Linked DNA regions of Homo sapiens: regions 2 and 3 are each linked to region 1. The links are contacts of gene promoters, found by promoter capture Hi-C in human tissues and cell types (Jung and others, 2019). All regions are on one chromosome and are shown on one strand. The core of a region is centred on a gene start or on the middle of the fragment in contact, and the rest is flanking DNA. Distances in the headings are between cores, read along the strand shown. Region 1 holds the start of RPS6KA4 (ribosomal protein S6 kinase A4). Region 2 holds the start of MACROD1 (mono-ADP ribosylhydrolase 1). Region 3 has its middle 9.5 kb from the start of SLC22A11.

Evidence for each region. Contacts are between HindIII fragments. The study calls those that stand out against the background at their distance.
Region 2: the fragment with the promoter of MACROD1 here is called in contact with the fragment with the promoter of RPS6KA4 in region 1 in 1 of the 25 tissues and cell types used here (spleen).
Region 3: a fragment that was not itself captured here is called in contact with the fragment with the promoter of RPS6KA4 in region 1 in 1 of the 25 tissues and cell types used here (dorsolateral prefrontal cortex).

What each region holds. Positions count from the first base shown.
Region 1 is chr11:64,357,755-64,361,209 of GRCh38, forward strand. RPS6KA4 (ribosomal protein S6 kinase A4) reads left to right here and starts at 1,408. Exons shown (of 17, transcript NM_003942.3): 1 at 1,408-1,536; 2 at 1,624-1,695; 3 at 2,409-2,627; 4 at 2,723-2,838; 5 at 3,380-3,455. The coding sequence starts at 1,482. RefSeq lists a silencer at 1,194-1,683 and enhancers at 1,433-1,960, 2,694-2,803. The HindIII fragment of the contact is 21,233 bases long and covers 1-3,455 here.
Region 2 is chr11:64,164,352-64,167,806 of GRCh38, forward strand. It overlaps MACROD1 (mono-ADP ribosylhydrolase 1), which reads right to left and starts at 1,762. Exons shown (of 11, transcript NM_014067.4): 1 at 1,346-1,762. The coding sequence starts at 1,643. LOC105369339 (a long non-coding RNA gene) reads left to right here and starts at 1,887. Exons shown (of 3, transcript XR_950187.3): 1 at 1,887-2,238. RefSeq lists an enhancer at 1,281-1,781 and silencers at 1,319-1,418, 1,549-1,628, 1,889-2,148. The HindIII fragment of the contact is 20,905 bases long and covers 1-3,455 here.
Region 3 is chr11:64,544,731-64,548,185 of GRCh38, forward strand. No RefSeq gene overlaps it. Among named protein-coding and RNA genes, the nearest start is that of SLC22A11, 9.5 kb to the right of the region's middle. The HindIII fragment of the contact is 7,372 bases long and covers 1-3,455 here.

The sequences.
Region 1 (3,455 bases), core at 158-2,657:
GTCTAAGATCTGGGCTCAGGGGTGTGGGGCAGTGAAGCCCCTGTTGCCCCGCCCCCACCCTCTCCCAGGGCACTGTCTTCTCTCTGTTCACATCCTCCTCCTACTCATCTCCCCTCCCTCCTTGAGGTTGAGCCCCCTCCCCAGGGAGTTCTCAGCCTGGCGGGGCATCACTTAATGCCAGGGGTTGCCAGGAGAGGTGGGAGGGACGCTGGCTCTCTGACCAGGGCCTCTAGCCTGATGCCTGAGAGGCGGGGCAATTCGGCTGGGGTGCAGGATGTGAGTCAGGGTACCTGGGGCCACCCAGGGGAGGGTGGAGCTGCCCAGGGCTGAGATAAGGCAGCCTGAACTTGGGGGGTGCAGAGCTGGGAGGGACGGTCCGTCCGGCCTCCCAGGTGTGACCTGCAGCAGCTTGAGTTCCTCCTCCTCTCAGCCAGGGCTTCACAGGACAGGGGCGTGGGGTGGACACCCTGGCCTCTCCAGCTGGCAGAGGAGCTGAGAGCCCCTCCCACCGGCCTCAGGGTGTGGGGCCTCATGGCTGTCCCACTCTGCTAGGTGGCCCCATTGGTGGTCAGGAAGGGAAAGGCAGGAAGAAGACGGAGCAGGGGCTCAGGAGGACCAGTCAGCAGGGGCCCTGGGCCTCATGGGGAGAGGGGGCAGCCCCGTGTGGCACTGACATCTCTTCTTGAGGCCTGCTCAGGGCTCTAAGCTGGGTACTGCACCAGGCTAGGAGACAACAGGAGCAGAACACGTGAGGTGCGCATGGCACCTGGTGGGCTCTGCACGGTGACTGGGGGCTGAAGTGCTTCTGCAGGCACCCCCGACAGAAAGCTGGTCAGAAAACTGGCCACTCCTCTCCTTGCCATGGGGTCCCAGGCCGGGCTCCAGCCCCCTCTTGGTGATGAGGCTCCTCCTTGCAAAGGCCAGTCCTCTGGGGAGAGGGGCCCTGCTGGCCACCCCCAGGACGATGGAGTGGGGTGGGCTCCACTGCCTGAGAGTTGGGTGACTTCCAGGATCCAGACCCCCTCTCAGCCTGCCCAGCACCAGGCACCTCGTCCCCCACCTTGGGGCACAGACTCCTAATGTCCTCCAGCCACTGGCTGCAGCCGGCATTCCCGGGCAGATTCCTGGCTTGGGGACTAATGCCCCAGAGGCTCCAGGTTACCCACGGGCTCAGGGATGGCTCCCACGGGGTGTTTCCAGTTCCCGGGAGAGTCGAGTAAGGTCCCGGAGCGCACGGCCCTGAGGCCTGGCCTGGGGGCTCGGGAGACAGGGCGGCCCCAGCCGGCCGCCCACCGGCAGCCCGGCGCTGTCACGTTCCAGCCGCCTGACTCAGGCCGCGCAGGGCGGGGAGCCGGGAGGCGGTGCCGGCGCCCGCCTCGGCCCCGGAGGCGGCACCAGGAAGCGCCCGCCCCGGCCGGAGCCGCCATGTAACCGGCGCCGCCCGGAGCCCGAGCCGCGCGGGCCCCAGCGACCCGCCCGCCATGGGGGACGAGGACGACGATGAGAGCTGCGCCGTGGAGCTGCGGATCACAGAAGGTGGGTGTGGGGCCTGACTGCGGCTGCCCGGGGCAGGCCGGGACGGGTCATGGACCGGCTGGGCTCATTCGCCCCCTGTGCCCACAGCCAACCTGACCGGGCACGAGGAGAAGGTGAGCGTGGAGAACTTCGAGCTGCTCAAGGTGCTGGGCACGGGAGGTGAGGACCCCCATCCACCGGGCAGGCGTCCCAGGCGCGGTGCCCCTGACCTCCTGCCTGCTCACTCTTGGGCCTGGGCCAGGCCACTGAGCAGGCCCCCCACCCTTTCCCGGCACAGCCTGCCTTGCCTGCCCCGCCCTGCCTCGCCAGAGTTTGCATGCCCACTTCCAGGGCACTCCACATTGACATCACTCCTCCCTCCACGGTCCTGTGCGTGCATACCCCCCTGGATTTGCCAACACCCTGGGGAGGGGGACTGGCGCCCCTCTCAAGTGATTTGCATAGCTCCTCCCTTTCTTCCAATATGGGATCCCCCTCCCACATTTTGCAAATGCCCCAGCGCTGGTTTGCGCATCCCTTCCCCAGCCAGGTGCACACCTCTGCCTCCCTTCCTTGCACTGGCATCTTTTCACATCCATCTGATCTCTCGCAGGTTTGCATATGCCCCGCCCCCATGCCTCGCAGCAGGCCCCCTGGAGATGCATGCTCCCCAGCCTGGTTTGCACATCCTTTCCCTGGTTTTGCTGGGCACCCTCCCGGGGTGTGCACACCCTTTCCTTAGAAGGCTCTGCCAGCTTTTTGCACACCTGCCTGTTGCCCCAGCTCCTTCGCCTCATTTGCACACCCTCCTGGGTTGGCATCGCCCCCACCCCCCAAGCCTGCACCAATCTCCCGCTCACAGCCCACCCTCCACCCACTCGCTGCTCCCACAGCCTACGGCAAGGTGTTCCTGGTGCGGAAGGCGGGCGGGCACGACGCGGGGAAGCTGTACGCCATGAAGGTGCTGCGCAAGGCGGCGCTGGTGCAGCGCGCCAAGACGCAAGAGCACACGCGCACCGAGCGCTCGGTGCTGGAGCTGGTGCGCCAGGCGCCCTTCCTGGTCACGCTGCACTACGCTTTCCAGACGGATGCCAAGCTGCACCTCATCCTGGGTGAGCGCACACCACATCCCAACGGGGTTGGGGTGGCTGGGGGCAGGCGAGGCCACCTGACGGGGCTGCTTCCTGACTTCCACTGCACCTCCCAGACTATGTGAGCGGCGGGGAGATGTTCACCCACCTCTACCAGCGCCAGTACTTCAAGGAGGCTGAGGTGCGCGTGTATGGGGGTGAGATCGTGCTGGCCCTGGAACACCTGCACAAGGTGGGTGAAGACCTGGCCGCAGGCTGTTGCTATGGAAACTGGGTCTGTGCCTTGGAAGGAATCTGCACGCAGGGCAGCCTCAGGCTTCCCCCTGGGCTTCCTGGGGGGCCAGTGGTGAGCTGGGTGGGAATTGGAGCTGCTTCCCCTGGACCCCTTGCAGGAAGCCTCAACGTTGCCTGGTGGGGTCCCCTCCCCTGGCACCTCCTCGAAGGGGCTTTCCTCTTTCAGGGAACTCGGGGCTGCGTTCACAGAACTTCCTCAAATGGAAACCTCACGGCCTGGCTCCTAAGGCCTCCTTGAAATGGAGCTCTTCACACAGACTTTCCTCTCTCTGGGACCTTGGGGCCTGATCCACGGGGCCCTCCTTCTTTGTTTTATATCTTAAATGGCCTTTCTTATTCAGTGGCTCTGCCCTGGAGACCCCCTCTACAGGCAGATGACTTTCTCTGGGGGGTCTCCTTATCCTGAGCAGGGCCAGGAGCTGGAGGAGCTGGGGAGGGTTTCGGGGAGGAAGCCTCAGCACCCCTCTTGCTCCTACCAGCTCGGCATCATTTACCGAGACCTGAAACTGGAGAATGTGCTGCTGGACTCCGAGGGCCACATTGTCCTCACGGACT
Region 2 (3,455 bases), core at 512-3,011, 190 kb before region 1:
GGATCCTAAAAACAGCGGCAGCCCTCGAGCAGGTGCCTGGGCACCTTGTCTCCGTAGCTCTTTCCCACCCTCCTGGGTTGTTGTCCTCTGAGAGAGTGCTCAGGGGAGCAGGGGTCTCTGTGGGGACAGTGGCTCCCCCTCCAGGGGTCTCTGCCAGCCCCAAACTCCTCCTGCTGTTCTGGGGCAAGGGCCAAGTGCCTGACAAGTTCTCCATCTGCTCACGGGCTAAAGTCGGTGCTTTCTGCCGTCACTTTTAGATCCTGGCGCAGGCCACACAATTCATGTCAGGAGTAAATCATTTTGATTTCCACCTCTGGTCCCGAGAAAGCCATCTTCTCTTCACCCCTAACACCGCAGGACCCCCCCATCCTGCCTGCCCAGCCCAGAGGCCACACCTACTCCACCACGGAGGCCCAGCCAATTAGCCACTTCCCTGCACTTTTGAAAGGGGATCCAGCCGGGAAGAGTCACAGGATCCCAGGAGGCAGGCCCTGAAAGGCAGGGGCAGCTGGGTGCCCGGCAGGGCTATTTGGGGCTCAGTAGCGGCAGCTTGGGTTCTCTCTCTCCCCAGGCCCCAGACTCATGCCCCCTCCAGGAGCAAGAGGAAGTGGTGTGATTCTTGAAGGGTGTCATCAGTTGTCACAGGGACAAGACCCCACCTCTGCCCTGCTCCTCTAACCTCTGTTCCTGGCATGAGCAAACTGCTCACAAGTGGCCAGAGGCCAGCGAGAAGGGGAAAAGGGCGCCAGACCACGTGCCCAGGAAGGCATCAGAGTGCGGGCTTGGGGTGGGGTGGAGGCAGGACAGGCCAGCCCAGGAAGGTCACTCTGTGAGGTTACGTGCCCCACCAGGTGGGACGCCAGCCCCGGAGCTGTTCCCTCAGCCCCATTCCCGAACACTTAAGAACCACACTGTGCAAAGTTTGGAGAGTCCGGGATCATAACCTCCACTTTGCCACCAGCTCCGAGTGACCTTGGGGAAGCCAGCTGTGGCACTCGGCCTCAGTTTCCCTCCTGCACAGGGAAGGAAGTTGGTAGGTCCTGCACAATCTCTGGGGTGCCCTGTGACCCATTCCAATGGGGTAAGGAAGGCCGCCTTCCTCACGCTGCCCCCTGCGTGGACACTTGGACCTGGTCTGGAGTGAATTGTTCTGTGGGGCTGGGAACACGCGCGGGGGCGGGGGGGGCTGTCAATGGGGAGGAGGGGTCCGTTCCAGGGCAGATGGGGCCTCAACTTCCCCAGGTCTCTCGGGTGGAAGGGGCTGCTCGCTCGTTGGGGGCCGCCCAGCCGGGAAGCTCCACGTGAGGCCGCCCTCTCCCTCGCGCCCCCTCGTGCTTACACTTACATTTCGCCTCCTTCCAGTCGGTGGAGGTGCTCAGGTCCACCTTCGCCGCCATGGCCAGGGGGGCCCAAGTGCGCACCCCGGCTGTCCGCCCCACCGCCGCCGCCCCCCACGCCCCAACTCCCGCCGAGGTCCGCGCACGGCGGCCGAACACGCCCAGGAACGCCGGGGGACCGCACGTGCTGCTGCGGGTCCTCGTGGCACCCGCCAAGTGTCCGGGCCGGGGGCGCGGGGGGACGAGCAGCTGCCCCGCCGCGCGCAGCTGTGCCAGGCGGCCGGACAGTCGGCTCTGTAGAGACATGAGCGGGCGGCGCGGGACGGCTCTCCGCCCACTTGGACTCTATTTACGGCGCTCGGGAGTGTCTCTCCCTTATTTACTCTGGGACCGGGTGGCGACTGCCAGCCAGCGGCGACCTGCTCGGAGCCAGCGGGAGGCGCGGCCAGAAAACCCGGGAGCGCCGCTGGGCACCCTGGAACTTGTAGTCCGGGCCGCCGGATGGGCCCACGCACTCGTATACACACGTGCGCGCCCGCCCGGGCTCCCAGTGTCGCGGATGGAGCCCCGCCTGAGCCCTTCGACTTCTCCCGTGGCCGCCAGGCGCCTCCCCTCCGCGAGACCTCGGCCGCCTCTAACTTTCTGGTTGGCTGAGCGTCGGCTTCCCCGGCACGGGCTGAAGCCCCCGGGCCTTCCACGCAGCCCCGGGCCCCTCTGCCGCTCGGCCCCGCGGCGGAGCAGGCGCGCCGGCCGCTGCGTATCGAGCTGGGAGAGCCTGGCGCGGCTTCCGCAGTGCCGAGCGTTTTGCAGCCTGGGAGACCCGGGCTTCTCTCCCCGCGGGTCAGCAGGGCACCGCCTCCACACCCCAGCCTGCCCTCCTAGGGACAGGTGCGACGAACGGGTAAATCCGGTTTGGGGACTTCTCCCCAGAGCCTCTGCCTTCTAACAGCCCCGGGGCCAAGGCTCAGCTGGAGCAGAATCTAGGACAGCTGGGGAGGAGAGTCGAGGGTGGAAATAGTGGAATTTGGAGGCAGGAAACTTAGGCTTCAAGTGGCGTTCAAGGGTGGAAGGATTGGGGTGATGTTTTTGTGTGTGTCTGTGTGTTTTTTTTTTTTTTTCTTTTCTTTTTTAAACAAAAACCGGCCGGGCGCGGTGGCTCACGCCTGTAATCCCAGCACTTTGGTAGGCCGAGTTGGGTGGATCACGAGGTCAGGAGTTCGAGGCCTGCCTGGCCAACATGGCGAAACCCCGTCTCTACTAAAAATACAAAAATTATGCAGGCGTGGTGGTGCATGCCTGTTAATTACAGCTACTCGGGAGGCTGAGGCAGGAGAATCACTTGAACCCGGAAGGCGGAGGTTGCGGTGAGCCGAGATCGTGCCATTGCACTCCAGCCTGGGTGACAGAACGAGACTCTGTCTCAAAGAAAACAAAACAAAAAACACGAGGATGGATTTTTAAGTACTTTTATATATTTTTATGTACTATTAATATTACTTTATGATAAATATAATGAATACAGGCCGGGCCATTATAATAATATAATGAATGTAATAATGAATAATGAATAAGTGCTCACACCTGTAATCCCAGCACTTTGGGAGGCTGAGGCAAGAGGATTATTAGAGGCCAGGAGTTCAAGACCAGCCTGGGCAATATAGTGAGACCCCCTCATCTCTACCCGCCCCCACACAAAAAAATTACCCTGGTATGGTGGTAGACACTCACCTCTAGTCCCAGCTACTCCAGAGGCTGAGGCAGGCAAACACTTGAGCCCAAGGGTTCAAGGCTACAGAGAGCCATGATGGCACCACTGCACTACAGCCTGGACGACACAGTGAGACCCTATCTCAAAAGTAATAATAATAATGAATATATTTTAATACGAGGGAGGAACGAGCCAGGGTTTCAGAGAAGGTTCTAGTACTAGTGTTGCTGCCCTAGGGTACCCTAGCCCCTTAAGACTCAAACTTCTTGAGCTGTCAGCTAGGAATAAGAGAGTCTGGCTGGTTGCAAACCTGCTCCTGTGCTCCAGGCCTCTGACTCTGAGTGTGGCAATAACCATGGATGGCCGTACGAGGATCCCTGACCTGCCATGGATGCAGATGGAACCACTGG
Region 3 (3,455 bases), core at 330-2,829, 190 kb after region 1:
TTTGAAGATGGTGGGGGGAGGGATATGGACAAAATTGTTTCCTAGAATGTCCTTCCTCAGGCTAAGTGGGAATTCCTGTTGGCTTAGCCATGCATGAAAGCTTTGTGCTGGAGAACCCTGTCTACAGTGATTGTGACGTGTGGGCAAGTGAAAGAGGCCTGTGGCCAGGAGGCACTGGTGGATCTGATTTTCTGAGTAAAGGGTTCTGCTTCCCCATGGGATCCTTAAGTTGCCTGGGGTGCTGCCCTTTTTCTCTGGCCTACCATGCAGTTTCAGAACTCCATTTAGCTGTTCTTGCACCTTGACCTCCAGGCAAACATGGAATTCAATGCCAAGTGGTGTTTGGTGGAGGGAGGGTGGGGCACAGTCAATCTGCTCACCCTGATGCTGTTAATTACCCAGATGTTCTTGGCCTGTGCCCACACTGCAGCCTCTCACCTAGTGCTGTCCTCCTAGGAAGGCTCAGGTGTTTGGGCCTCCTTTCCCTCCTGCATGTGGTGCAGGTCCCTTGGTCTGAGGTTTCATTGTCCATCTGTCCCATGATCTTTATGTCTTATGCAGATTCTTTCCCTAGTTTTCCATTTCTCACCTTTCCCATGCTGCTCTGGGACTGCCAAACTATTTCCTTTCTGGATCCACTTGGATTTGGTTGGAGGAGGTAAATGAGTGCCCCACTAGCCATCCTGAACCGTGAGCCCCTCCATGTCCCTGGGAAAACAGAGAGCTGTTTGACCCAGGAGACCTGTGTGACCCAGAGCTTCGGGTTCTTGCACCTCTTGGGCGATGTCACCCAGTAGGTTCCTTAAGGGCAGGATCCTTAGTTGGCAAAGAAGTGGCTGAGTGAACTCAGTCTGTAGCTAGGTTGAGACCAATGAAGAGAAGGGTCTGAAGTCTACCTGCCGCCAGGGCAAGGGCGCATATGTCAGGAAGAGTGGGAAGGGGGGCTGGGGAGAACGTATGCCCCCAGGCTTCTGCCTCTCCAGTTGTCTGCGCAAAGAACAAATCCTAGTGCGCTGTGGCAGGGGCGGCACGTCTGTTTGCTCTCACGTGCCACTCCGTTCCTTGCTCCATTGCCTGATGATGCAGAGGATAGGAATGGACTTGGCCATGGCGCGCTGCCAGCCTGCATGGTGACACACATCCCCTCGCTTATTCAGCAAGCACTGAGTAGGCACCTCCAGTGTGCAGGCAGGGCTCAGGCACCAAGGGGTTTAGTGATATGCGTTCCCATCTGCAAGGAGCTTATATTTCGACGGAGAGGCTGCCATGGAAATAAACATAAAGTCCCTCTTGGAAACCCCTTCCGAGGAGATAGAAGGTGTGGAATAGTCGTGGCTGTGGAGAATGGTCAAGGCCAGGGCGTCTTAAACTTCAGTGGGCACACAGATCACTTGGGGCTCTTAGTAAATGCAGATTCTGATTCTGGAGGTCTGGGTTGGGATCTGAGATTCTGCCTTTCTAAAGAACTCACAAGTGACATTGATGCTGCTGGTCCATGGACCACACTTTGAGTAGCAAGGGTAGAGGGAAGCCCCAGCTTCCTGCCATGTCCTGATGCTGTCCTGTGGGTGCTGGGGGCACCTGTGGGAACCCACCAGGAACTGCTGCTCCGGAGGCCTCTGAAAGAGGCCCTGTCCCAACCCCAGGCCCAGGGGCAGGCTGGAGGCCGGTTTGCAGGTCAGCCTGGGCTGCAGGTCCCCCACTGCCCTTCATGCTGCTCCAGAGGAAAAGTGCTGGGAGGTGGCTTTGCCTGGACAGGACACAACCCAGCAGCTGTGGACTTGGTCAGGGAAGACCTCTCTTCAGAATTTTGGGGATTGGCTCTGTTCTTGGGGGAGGCCTGGGTCAGATGATGTTCTGTAGCCGTCCACACAGCCCTGGGGCTTCAGAGCTTGTAGTAGGGTCCTCGTGAGCACTGAGTGAGACCTCCGCAGGAAGCTAACACAGGGTGGGTGCCCAGGGACCCTTGGGTGTCTTGGGGGCCAGATGACTCAGCAGCAGTCACTGCTGCCATCGGGCTTGGCTCTCTCAGGTCACTCAGGGTCAAGGTAAAGTCTCCAGGCAACTGGAGAGTCATGCCCTGCTGCCCATGACAGTGGCTCAGGGCCAGGTCAGATGTGGCCATCCTCGGGACCATGCTGGGAACTGTCTCCCTAACCAGGGAGCTCTGGGGCTCCTTTCAAGGTAGCGAAGGATGCTGAGCCATAGTTAATAGGCTTACAGGTTAATCCAGCATGTGACCAGGACAGGCGTGTGCTTCGGCGGGTGGAGGTCAGGATGCTGCCCCCTTACCAAAAAGAGATGCTCTGAAGTTCTGGAACTCTGTGCATGCCATTGAGATCGCCACAAGAGCCGGTGAGACTTTGCTAGGACCATGAGGCACTCTAGGCAGTCCCTGCCCATCCACCTCTGGGCTGGAGTGCAGTGGCACGATCAGGGCTCACTGCAACCTCCACTTCCCAGATTCAAGCAATTCTCCTGCCACAGCCTCCCAAGTAGCTGGGACAGGCGAGTGCTACCATGCCCAGCTAATTTTTGTATTTTTAGTAGAGATGGGGTTTCACCATGTTGGCCAGGCTGGTCTTGAACTCCTGGCCTCAAGAGATCTGCCTGCCTTGGCCTCCCAAAGTGCTGGGATTACAGGCGTGAGCCACTGTGCCTGTTCCCCACCTCTTTAAAATGTATTGAATTCACATTCTCCTCACCATCTCCACAGTCTGTGCCCCGTTCAGGCCAGGAAAAGCCTCTTCCTGGTTCTCCTCTCTGTAGCCCTGTCTCATCTGAGCCCACCTTACATTTTCATCCACCTGAGACATTCTCCTAGTAATCAGACCCTCCTCCCCCATCTTTCCTGGTCTGGCCTTGGGGCCTTTGCATGTGCTGTTCTTGCTCCCGGAACACCCATCCTCACCTCCCCACACCCTTTCAAACCGGTGCTTTCTCTCAGCTCTTTCTTCTCTGTACTTCCTAGTTATGTTTCTGGCCTTTGTCTTGTGGTGTGTTGGGTTGGCTGATATTGCATGATCAGCCCTGATGCAGTGGTTTTTACATCCGTCTCCCCACTGGACGAACCTCCTTGCTGGTTCACCTTGGGTCTCCAGGGCCCAGCATGGGGCCTGGAACCTTGTACACCTTTAATACATGTTTGTGGAGCTGACACGATGATGAATTCTTTCACAACTTTCAGATGTGTATCTGTTAGGTGGAAGGAAATTGCTGGGAAACAATTTTCAGAACTAAGTGCATTTGCCGTTGCGCTTGGAGAAGCCATTTAACTTCTCTGAGCCTCACTACCCCACCAGACACCCACCCGTGCAATTGTCCTGAGCATGACCGGGGCGGGGGGTGGTGCCAGTGATCAGCAGGGGGCAGGCTTGTCATTGCAGGGCTGCCACTAACCAGCTGTCGCACCCCACCAAAGAGGGTTGGGAACCCTGCGTTAAGTTGGGTCCCCT